Linked DNA regions of Homo sapiens: all the other regions are linked to region 1. Evidence: promoter capture Hi-C in 16 types of primary human blood cells and fetal thymus (Javierre and others, 2016). All regions are on one chromosome and are shown on one strand. Each heading gives the region's core, a stretch centred on a gene start or on the middle of the fragment in contact. The rest is flanking DNA. Distances are from core to core; before and after follow the strand shown.

Region 1 (3,246 bases), core at 254-2,753:
GCAATTCATCTTCCCCCATGTCTAGCCTCATCTGTGTCCCCAGCCCCACTGGGGCAGAAAGCTGTGGAATGTTACTCACACTGTCATTGGATCAACCCCTGGCTTTCCTGTGGGGATCCCCTCCCTGGGAGGGGTTCCCATGACAATTTGGGCTCCAGAAAGGGATGTGGGAGGAGAGTGCGGTGGAGGGAGGTGGTCTGTGGTCTCCCTTCATGGACCAGAAAGCTTGACCCCCAAGGGGACCCTGGCTTCTACTTCCTCAGAGCTAAGCAGTGCCAAGGGGCAGCCTGAGACATGGGCAAAGGGGAAGCCTAAATGGAAAAAGAGAGAGAGAGAGAGAGAAAGAGAGAAGGGGCAGGGAGGACAAAGACACATGGCAAGTGTCCAAGCTGGAACATTCCCACCAGTGGCCTTATTGCATTAAGGATTTTCCCAAAAAGCAGAAATACACTGATAGTCAATGGAACATAGCAGAGCTGTCACGAGCCCAGGAAACACAAGTCCCACCTCTACACAGCCAGAGACTGTGTGACTGTCCCAAATTTTAAATCAAGATAGACAATAAGAACCTACCACTTTCACATCCAAGAAAACTGTGTCCCTACACATTTCAGTCACACCGTGCTGTGGCTTGAGGCCAGCCAGATGCAAAAATCAGGAAGGTTCTGAGGGGTAGGGCCTTCTGTCTTTCTGAAAGGGGCCCCTGAGCGGAGGGGGCAGTGCTGGGGGAGCTAAAGCGCAGTGGGCTGTCACTTCACGACTATGACTTCTGTTTCCCAAGTGCACTTCCTGACCCTGAGATTTGTGCCATGGCACACAGGAATCAGGGCACTTCCGTTTACATATACGCTCATTATCAGGACTGGCGTCGTGGGTGTGGGGCCTGGGCAGTCACAGGGCCCTGTTCTTAGAAGGTGCCCCGGCTTGCTTTAATGCTGTGTTGTTGTCCTTTTGAAAGCCTTACTATTTTAACAAGGGGCCCTGCATTTTTATATTGCACAGGGCCCTGCAATTATGCAGCCATTCCTGCTTTTGATCTCACTTACCCCACAGCCATAATGGAAGAGCGCCTGGAAGGAGTCCTTATCCTGATTCCCAGATGGTGAAACTGAGTGCCAGGAGGGGCAGTGCTGAAGCCGAGACCAGACAGGATCCCTCGGGTGGAATCCAGGGCTGCTGTTTCTCTTGGGGGCTCCTCCTCAGTGAATGGATGGGTGGTAATCTCCTTTCCTACCTGTCCTAGCGGTAGCCTCTGTTCCTTCTCTTGTTTTATCTCATTTTATTTTTTTAAAAAATACCAAAACCATTCTCTCACCTGCCAGAGAGGAGCTCATAGGAGTTGGGCTTCCTCAGAGAGTGTTCCTCCCTCGTCCCCTGTCCTGTCCAGGCACCTGCGAGCAGGATGGTGTGTCCCCGGCTAAATCCACAGGCGCTCCACTCTGTCCCAGAGAGCCCACAGCCAAAAACTTCGTCCTGTCCTGGAAAAGCTTCACTGGTAAGCATTCCCGACCTTTAGACCTGCCTTGGCCCATAGCTGGCCACGAGCCCATAACGATCACTTCCCGGCTGGGTGTTTACCTTCCTGGGCCCCATGGGTTGAGCCAGGGTGGCAGCCACATACCTGACACAAAAGTGGTGCAGGAGGGAAGGGCTATCTGAGGGGAAGGCTGGGCATGGCTGGAATACCCGCCGCCCGCCCAGTGCAAGATAATGCTGATGGTCACACCAAGAGGGGCCCGTGGCTCAGCTGGCCCACCAACCCCAAGCATTGGCCAAGCCAGCTGCACGGCCCTCAAATCTGAGATTTGGGAGAGGCTTTGGGGTCCTCCAGGGTTCTAGTCACTTCCTGCCATGGCCATCTGGCCTTAACTCAATCACTTCCAGGCATGGAACACTCACTGCTTTGTAAGGCATCTTGCTCCATTATTATTATTATTATTATTATTATTATTATTATTATTATTCCCTCTAATAGCTTCCTTTAATCCAGTGCTTACTACATGACAGGCACTGGGCTAAGTACATTACATAATCTATGTAATCCTTGTGTTGTCACTATGACCAGAGAATCATGCCCATTTTAAAGATGCAGAAACAGAGGCTCAAGAAATTGATCATCTTGCTCAAAGCCCCACAGCTAGTAAGTTGGGGATCCAGGATTCAAACCCAAGCCAACTAGTATCAAAACCACTACCATCATTTGCCAAGTTTAATTGCTACATCATCCATCTTTATATAAAACTCAAATCAGCGTTTGTTTTAGCTATCTGTTCTGGAAACAAATTAACTCAAAGTGTGTGGCTTGAAATAACACTCATTTGTCATCTCAGTTTCTGTGGCTAGAAGTCTGGGCACTGCTTGGCTGGGTTCTCTGCTCAGGGTTTCTCATAAGTTGCCATCCAAGTGTTGGAGGGGCTGAGGTCTCATCTCATGGCTCCACTAGGGGGGATCCACTTCCAAGCTGCTGGTGTTGGCAGGATTCAGTTTCTTAGGGCTGTAGGATGAAGGCCTCAGCCCCTCTCAGCTGTCAGCTGTGGCCACTATCAGTCCTTTGCCATGTGGGCCTCTCCGCCCTGGCAGCTCGTTGCATCAGAGAGGGCTATGGAGAGAGTCTGGGAAGAGGTAGGTCAGTCTTTTGTAATATACTCAAGGATGTGATATTCCATCACTTCTGGCATATTCTACTCGTTAGAAGGAAGTCATCAGGCACAGCCTACACTCAAAGGTAGGGGATTACACAGGGCACAATACCAGGGGTGGGGGTCCCTGAGGGCCATCTTTGAAAGTTCCCACAGCCATCTGATTGCCACAAAACATGGGTTTCAGTTTTGTCCCTGAAAGCCAGATTGAAGTAGTCTCTCATCTATTCTCTCACCCATCCATCCACCCATCCACCCATCCATCCACCCATCCACCCATCCATCCGTCCATCCATCCATCCACCATCCATCCACCCATCCATCCATCATCCACCCATCCACCCATCCATCCACCCATCCATCCATCCATTATCCACCCATCCACCCATCCATCCACCCATCCACACTTCCATCCACCCACCCATCCATCCACCCACCCTTCCATCCATCCATCCACCCACCATCTATCCATCCAACCATCCATCCATCCATCCATCCATCCATCCATCCATCCATCCATCCACCCAACCATCTACTCATCCATTCATCCACCCACTCATCCACCCATTCATCTACCCAACCATCTACTCATCCATTCATCCACCCA
Region 2 (3,246 bases), core at 325-2,824, 250 kb after region 1:
CTCCTGCCTCAGCCTCCCGAATAGCTGGGACTACAGGTGCCCGCCACCACGCCCAGCTAATTTTTTGTATTTTTAGTAGAGACGGGATTTCACCGTGTTAGCCAGGATGATCTCGATCTCCTGACCTCGTGATCCGCCCGCCTCGGCCTCCCAAAGTGCTGGGGTTACAGGCTTGAGCCACCGCTCCCGGCCTGTTGTTAGTTTTTATTTCATGAATCTGTTCTATAGCTAGCCAGCTCCTTGGAAGGTGGGTCCACATCTTACATGCTTGAGTCCAGGAGTTCGAGGCCAGCCAGGGCAACATAGTGAGATACCATCTCAATAATTTTTTAAAAGGTGGGGGAGATTTGATAATTATTCTGCCTGATTTAGGATGGTTTCATGTAAAGTGTGTTCCACTGTCTAATCTCTTGGCATTACTTCTTGGGTTAAGATTGGGGAAGTGCCAGGTTGCCTCAAGATAAGGTATTAGTTTGTGCTTAGCTATGTAATAACAATACATATAGAGATGGAAGGACTGCTATACTACCACCTTTATCCCCCTCTTTTTATTTTATTCTGGGTCATATGGAGGGGGCAGTTCTTTCCGCTCTCATCGGATGTTGGATGAGAGGAACAAGTGTCCAGCCTTGTTCCTTTTCTCCATCTACAAGCTTTCCCTAGACAGTGGTTTCAGCTGCTCACTATAGTCTGATAATTCTCACCTGTGACACCAGCTTTCTCTCGAACTATAAATCCACAGTTCTAGTTGTCTTCTGCTGTATCTGAGATATTATGCAAACACTTGGCAAAGATTCCAAAACTGCATTGACTCTGGAGGTGATCTGAACTCACTCCTGTGGCTTTAGGCACATCTGTTTGCTGACAGTGTCTACATGTTAGCCTCCAGCTTGGACTTCTTCTTGAGGTTCAGACTCTTAATACTCAGTTTCCATTTGACAGTACTCAGTTTTCACTTGAATGGCCACAAACGAACTCTTTAGGTCTCCTCCAAAACCTGCTCCTCCCACAGTCTTGCCCATTTCAGTGGGTGACACCTACCTTCTACCAGTTGCTCAGGCCAAAAGCCTTGATTCATCCTTGACTCCTATCTGTCTTCATGCCCCATAGCCAATTCAAAGTCAAGTCCTGTTAGCGCTGTCTTTGGAATGGATCTAGAATCAGACCGTATCTCACCTCACTGCTCCCACCCTGGTCTGAGCCGCACTGTCCCATGTTTGCACTTCACAGTAGCCTGCTGGCTGGTCTTCCTGTTTCGGCCCTTACCCCACTGCAATCTGCTCTCCTTTTAAAACCTAAGTCATTCAGCTGCTCAGAGCCCTCCAGCAGCTTCCCTTCACGCCTAGTAAACCTCACAGCCCTCGGAGGTGCCCACAAGGCTCTGCATCATTTCCCCACCTCGTCCTTGACCGCACCTCCTCTGTCCCCCTGTGCCTGGGCTTCAGTCACCCTTCCTCCAAATACACCACCTGCTGTACACCTCTCCAGGCTCTGCTGCTGCTGCTCCTTCTGCCCAGAGGGCCCTTCCCTCAAGGGTCCACATGGCTTATTCCTCACTTCCTTACAGTCTCTAGTCATGTGTCACGTAGGAGAAACCCTCCTCAATTACGTTAAAATAGGACCCCCTCCCTCTGTTCCCCTTCTTGTGCTTGAGTTTTCTGCAAGCACATGTGACTGCTGACCTCACACGTGCTCTCAGTTGACTGTCAGCTGTGTGGAAGCAGAGCCCTGCACTCACTGCTGCGTCATCGGCACTCAGGTCCTTGCTGAGCCAGTGGGCCCTGTTGGTGCCTGTTACTGGGACTTCATTCAGGAACTTTCCACCCTTTATTCCTGATGTGCCTGATGGTCACAGTTGCTTTGCTTTTTTCCATGTGTTTCATGTCTCCTCCTTTCCACTCATAGTGCCTGTAACCGCAGCTGCTGGAGACACCCGAATGGTTTATTGGCTTTGTGAACATGTTTCTGGAGTTATGGTTTCATTGCCTAATTGGAAAGGTTTGGAGTCTCATTTTTCCCCCTCCGTTTTTTGCACATTCTCTTCATCTGCCTGGTTTGCCAATTTAGTCCCGGACATGATGGCACATGGAATGACAATCAGCTACAAGAAATGGCCCAACTGAGGATTAAGCACCAAGAGGAACTGACTGAATTACACAAGAAACGTGGGGAGGTAAAGCTAGCCCTTTTCCTCATCTGTCTTCTGCCCTCTATGAGAGTCCTGTGGGGAGCGGGGGAGCTCAGTCACTTCTCACCAGAATTGGCAGCAGCCTTAGCCATATGTGGCATCAAAAGTCCCCTCCATAGGAATAAAAGGGTGAGGAAAACAGAATGAAAAGACCAGGCAGATTGAGGCCCATCACCAGAAGGGCAATCCTGTGAGAGCGCTGCCAGTTACCATGCTCCAAAATCAGCATGAGAGGCAAGAGTGGAGAGGCTTTAAAGAACAAAAAAGCCTGCTACCTGGTGCGCTGAAGGCCTCACTGATGGTTTCATAAAGCTTTTCAGTACAAACCCTGAAATTTCAGAGACATTCGTGAGAAAGAATCAAGTCCTAGGCTGTGTTCGCCTGGATGGTGGTCTTACGGCAAAGCTCCAGTTGGGAAAATACAGTTCACCATCAGTACAGCTGAATTGATTATCTTTTCAGCAGAAATGAGTCTCCAAAAAGGTAGCTGAAGTTGAGGAGTAGACAGCTGTCCTCAGCAAGCCCCTGGCAGTCACCTGGAACACTTCTCATTCCAGCCAAGCTGTCCTTCAACAGGGAGTGGCAGGGATAGTTCCCCTTTGTGTCCCCATAGGCGCCTCGGCTCCTTGCTGTCACCCAGCTCATTTATTCTTTCTTAAAAATAAATCGCCACCCACTGTGTAGTTTCCAAATGAGGTCCTAAAATTTTTATTTATGAAAGTATTCTTCTTTATCTCCCAGTTAGCTCAACTGGTGATTGACCTGAATAACCAAATGCAGCGGAAGGACAGGGAGATGCAGATGAATGAAGCAAAGTGAGTAGAGACCCCGCCTCCTTGGAGCCTGGTCATTGGGTCCCATGTCCTTTGTTCTGCTGACCTCTTGTGAGCAGGGCCAGTGGCAGTGAGTGGCCACAGTGCACTTAGCGAGAGTTTGATTTTCAGTGCATACACACTCTGGGATCCTTTTCTACCAGCTCTGAGAAGGAAAAAGCAAGGACAGTGCCCACAGGCTTCTAGCATCCTCCTAGGGATGTCACCTTGGCTCTTGCAAGTGGC
Region 3 (3,246 bases), core at 193-2,692, 220 kb after region 1:
CGAGAAGGGCTCTGCAAGGCCGCCCTCCTCCTGCTAGGGGCCCTTCTCCCGCTCCCACCTAGGACTCGGGGAGCAGCTCTCGGGCCTCTTCCCAGGACACACAGGAGTTCCCGTCCTCAGATCTTGGTAAAGGCAGCAGGAGAGGGTGGAAATGTCCTGCTTTTGCGTCTTTGCCATAAAATGATGTCTAAGGGGTCTTCCTGCTCTAAAATTCTAAATTTCCATTTCAGTCAAGGCTTTCTGCTTATGGGGAAGAGAAACTAGCTCCAAGCAGAGACAGAGTAACCTAACCCTAAGGAGAGCTCAGCCAGGCAGAGTGGCTCACGCTGTAATCCCAGCATTTTGAGAGGCTGAGGCGGGTGAATCACTTGAGGTCAGGAGTTTGAGACCAGCCTGGCCAACATGGTGAAACCCTGTCTCTACTAAAAATATAAAAATTAGCCAGGTGTGGTGGCACATGCCTGTAATCCCAGCTACTCGGGAGGCCGAGGCAGGAGAATCACTTGACCCTGGAAGGCGGAGGTTGTGGTGAGCCAAGATCGTGCCATTGCATTCCAGCCTGGGCGACAGAGCAAGACTCTGCCTCAAAAAAAAAAAAAAAAAAAAAAAAAAAGGAGCACTGATGAAGAGTCTAGCTAGCCAGGCCTCAGCCACATGGAGCTGGGAACAAGGTTGTCAGGCAGAGGGTGGCTCTTCTCTGGGCCCTGGTCCTCTCTGGACGTTTCCTTCTGCTCACCTGTTTCTTTCTCTGCCCAGCGTCCTCTGCCTATTCCTGGTTCTCCTTGGCTTTGTCTTGCCATGGTGCTGACTCAGCCCTTGACTGCTCCAGACCCAGAGGCCCGGCTCCTCACTCTCCCTTAAGAGAGGATTTAGGCCCAGTTAGGTGTCCACGGCTGGTCCAAAAAGTTCTTGGCCGGAAAGCTTCAGTCATGGGATAGAAACACAGCCACCCAGGCACATGACTTGATTAGAGAGAAAGACAAGTGGACTTGGCAAGGGTCAGGACCTCCAAAACATCAACAGCAGTGTTGGTGGCAGCTCCTTTCATTCCCACTTTCTTCTATTACTTGGGTTTCATCCAAACCTCTCTGGTTCTCAGAGAAGTACGTTCTAGGGCAGGGTTAGACATGAGAGATTTATTGAAGGAAGTGTCTGTGCAGGAAGATGGGGAGATTACAGGAGGAGGCTGGGAGAGCTGTCAGGCCATGATGCAGGTCTGACCCTGGTGAAGGAGAGAGGGAAGGAAGGTGAGGTAGGAAGACTCTCAGCCTGCCGCACATTCTAACAAAGTTTGGGCAGGGTTGATAGACATCTGTCTAAGTCAGTTCAGTCTACTATAATAAGATACCATATACTGGGTGGCTTATAAACAACAGAAATGTATTTTCCACAGTTCTGGAGCCTGGGAAGTCCAAGGTCAAGGTGCTGGCAGATCCAGTATCTGGTGAGAACCTTCTTCCTGGTTTGCAGATAGTAGACTTCTCACTGTGTCCTCACATGGTAGGAGGAGCAAGGCAGCTCTCTGGGGCCTCTTTTATAAGGTCCTCACCTCATGAATGGGTGCTGATCCCATTCATGGGGGCTCTTCCCTTGTGACCTAAGCACCTCCCAAAGGTCCCACTTCCAAATACCATCACACTGGGGATTATGGCTTCAAGATATGAATTTGGGGCAGGGGCACAAACATTCGGTCCATAGCAGCATCCTTGAGGCAAAGTTCATCAGAGGAGTCCCACGTGTCACAGGAGTCATTCTGCCTTAGCAGCCCTGCTGTGCTTCGTCATTGGTTGGGAGCAGTGGTAAGAAATGTGGACACAGCTTGAATGTGGTGGTGGATTTAGAGCACAGCATCAAGGGCTGTCAGGTGATTGTATTTCCCCCAGCAGGAGATCTGAGAGATACAAGTTCAAGGTCAACACACAGGCTCTTTTTTATGAGGCAGGAGAAGGAAGGCACAGATTGGTAAGCTTGCAGGCTATGGAGTCCACAGGCTGGGTTGGAATCTGCCTACCTCTTACCCATCATGTGCACCTGGACAAGTTACCTGTCTCCCTGAGCCTCACTTTCTTCCTCTGAAATAATAATAATGGCCATACCTATAAAGCACTTACTGTGTGCAAGACACCGTTGTCAGTATTAATTCATTTAATCCTGGGGCACAGAGTTTAAGCAACTTGCCTAAGATATCAGAGGTGATAAGTGCTAGCATCAGAATTTGAACCCAGAACCCAGGCTACATTGTCTTTGTGAAGTAGAGCCAGCAATAGCACCAACACGACTATGCTGTTGTGAAAACTGAGAAGAGAACAATTGTAAAGCATTTAGCCTCACACACTGTATACATTCAATAAATGTTACCTGCTGTTACTGGCATTACTAATTATTATTATAGAAGGTACAGACTGAGTTTTTCTTTCTTTTTTTCTTTTTTTTTTTTTTGAGACGGAGTCTCGCTCTGTCGCCCAGGCCGGACTGCGGACTGCAGTGGTGCAATCTCGGCTCACTGCAAGCTTCGCTTCCCGGGTTCACGCCATTCTCCTGCCTCAGCCTCCCGAGTAGCTGGGACTACAGGCGCCCGCCACCGCGCCCGGCTAATTTTTTGTATTTTTAGTAGAGACAGGGTTTCACCTTGTTAGCCAGGATGGTCTTGATCTCCTGACCTCATGATCCACCCGCCTCGGCCTCCCAAAGTGTGAGTTTTTCTTTAGTGGTTTCGAAGATACACACTTTTCATCCCAATGGTCTCTTCTGACAATAACTAGTTTCCTTCATATGGTGGGGAAAATGGATCCCACTGTGACAATGTAAAGTGATCCCACCTGCAGACATTTGCCTTGCTTTGGCTCTACGCTCATCAGATGTCTTCTGAGGATAACGTGGTGTTCTGTGCACACTCCCAACAGGGTAAAGGGGACACACCATTGATAGCCTACCCAGCAGCCATTTCCTGCTTCTTCCTTCCTGAGAGAGACCCAGTTTCCTTTAGATATTATTCTGGTTATCTATTGCTGCATCACGAACCATCCCCAAAACTGAAAACAACAATTCATTATCCTGTCTCACAATTCCGTGGCTGACTGGGCTCAGAAGGGTGGTTCTTGCTTGGGGTTTCTCATGTGGTTGCAGTCAGATGGCAGCTGGGGCTGGGGTCATCAGAAGCCTCCACTGAGCTGGACATCCCGGGTGGCCTCTTCATTCACGAGTCCAGAACAGTGGAAACTGGCTCAGTATCTCGGTATCTCGGTA

Evidence for each region. The method cuts DNA at HindIII sites, captures the fragments that hold promoters and counts their contacts. A CHiCAGO score of 5 or more calls a contact.
Region 2: a fragment that was not itself captured here is called in contact with the fragment with the promoter of NGEF in region 1 in 1 of 17 cell types (endothelial precursors); the score reaches 5.6 in endothelial precursors.
Region 3: a contact is called between a fragment that was not itself captured here and the fragment with the promoter of NGEF in region 1, in 1 of 17 cell types (endothelial precursors). The highest score is 6.3, in endothelial precursors.

What each region holds. Positions count from the first base shown.
Region 1 is chr2:233,011,753-233,014,998 of GRCh38, forward strand. It overlaps NGEF (neuronal guanine nucleotide exchange factor), which reads right to left and starts at 1,504. Exons shown (of 15, transcript NM_019850.3): 1 at 1,316-1,504. It overlaps LOC101928881 (a long non-coding RNA gene), which reads left to right and starts at 862. Exons shown (of 3, transcript NR_136325.1): 1 at 862-1,217; 2 at 1,388-1,495. The HindIII fragment of the contact is 3,625 bases long and covers 1,486-3,246 here.
Region 2 is chr2:233,261,063-233,264,308 of GRCh38, forward strand. ATG16L1 (autophagy related 16 like 1) reads left to right here. Exons shown (of 18, transcript NM_030803.7): 3 at 2,068-2,173; 4 at 2,930-3,003. Among named protein-coding and RNA genes, the nearest start is that of ATG16L1, 11 kb to the left of the region's middle. RefSeq lists enhancers at 663-752, 1,053-1,122. The HindIII fragment of the contact is 1,847 bases long and covers 652-2,498 here.
Region 3 is chr2:233,236,216-233,239,461 of GRCh38, forward strand. No RefSeq gene overlaps it. Among named protein-coding and RNA genes, the nearest start is that of ATG16L1, 14 kb to the right of the region's middle. The HindIII fragment of the contact is 1,046 bases long and covers 920-1,965 here.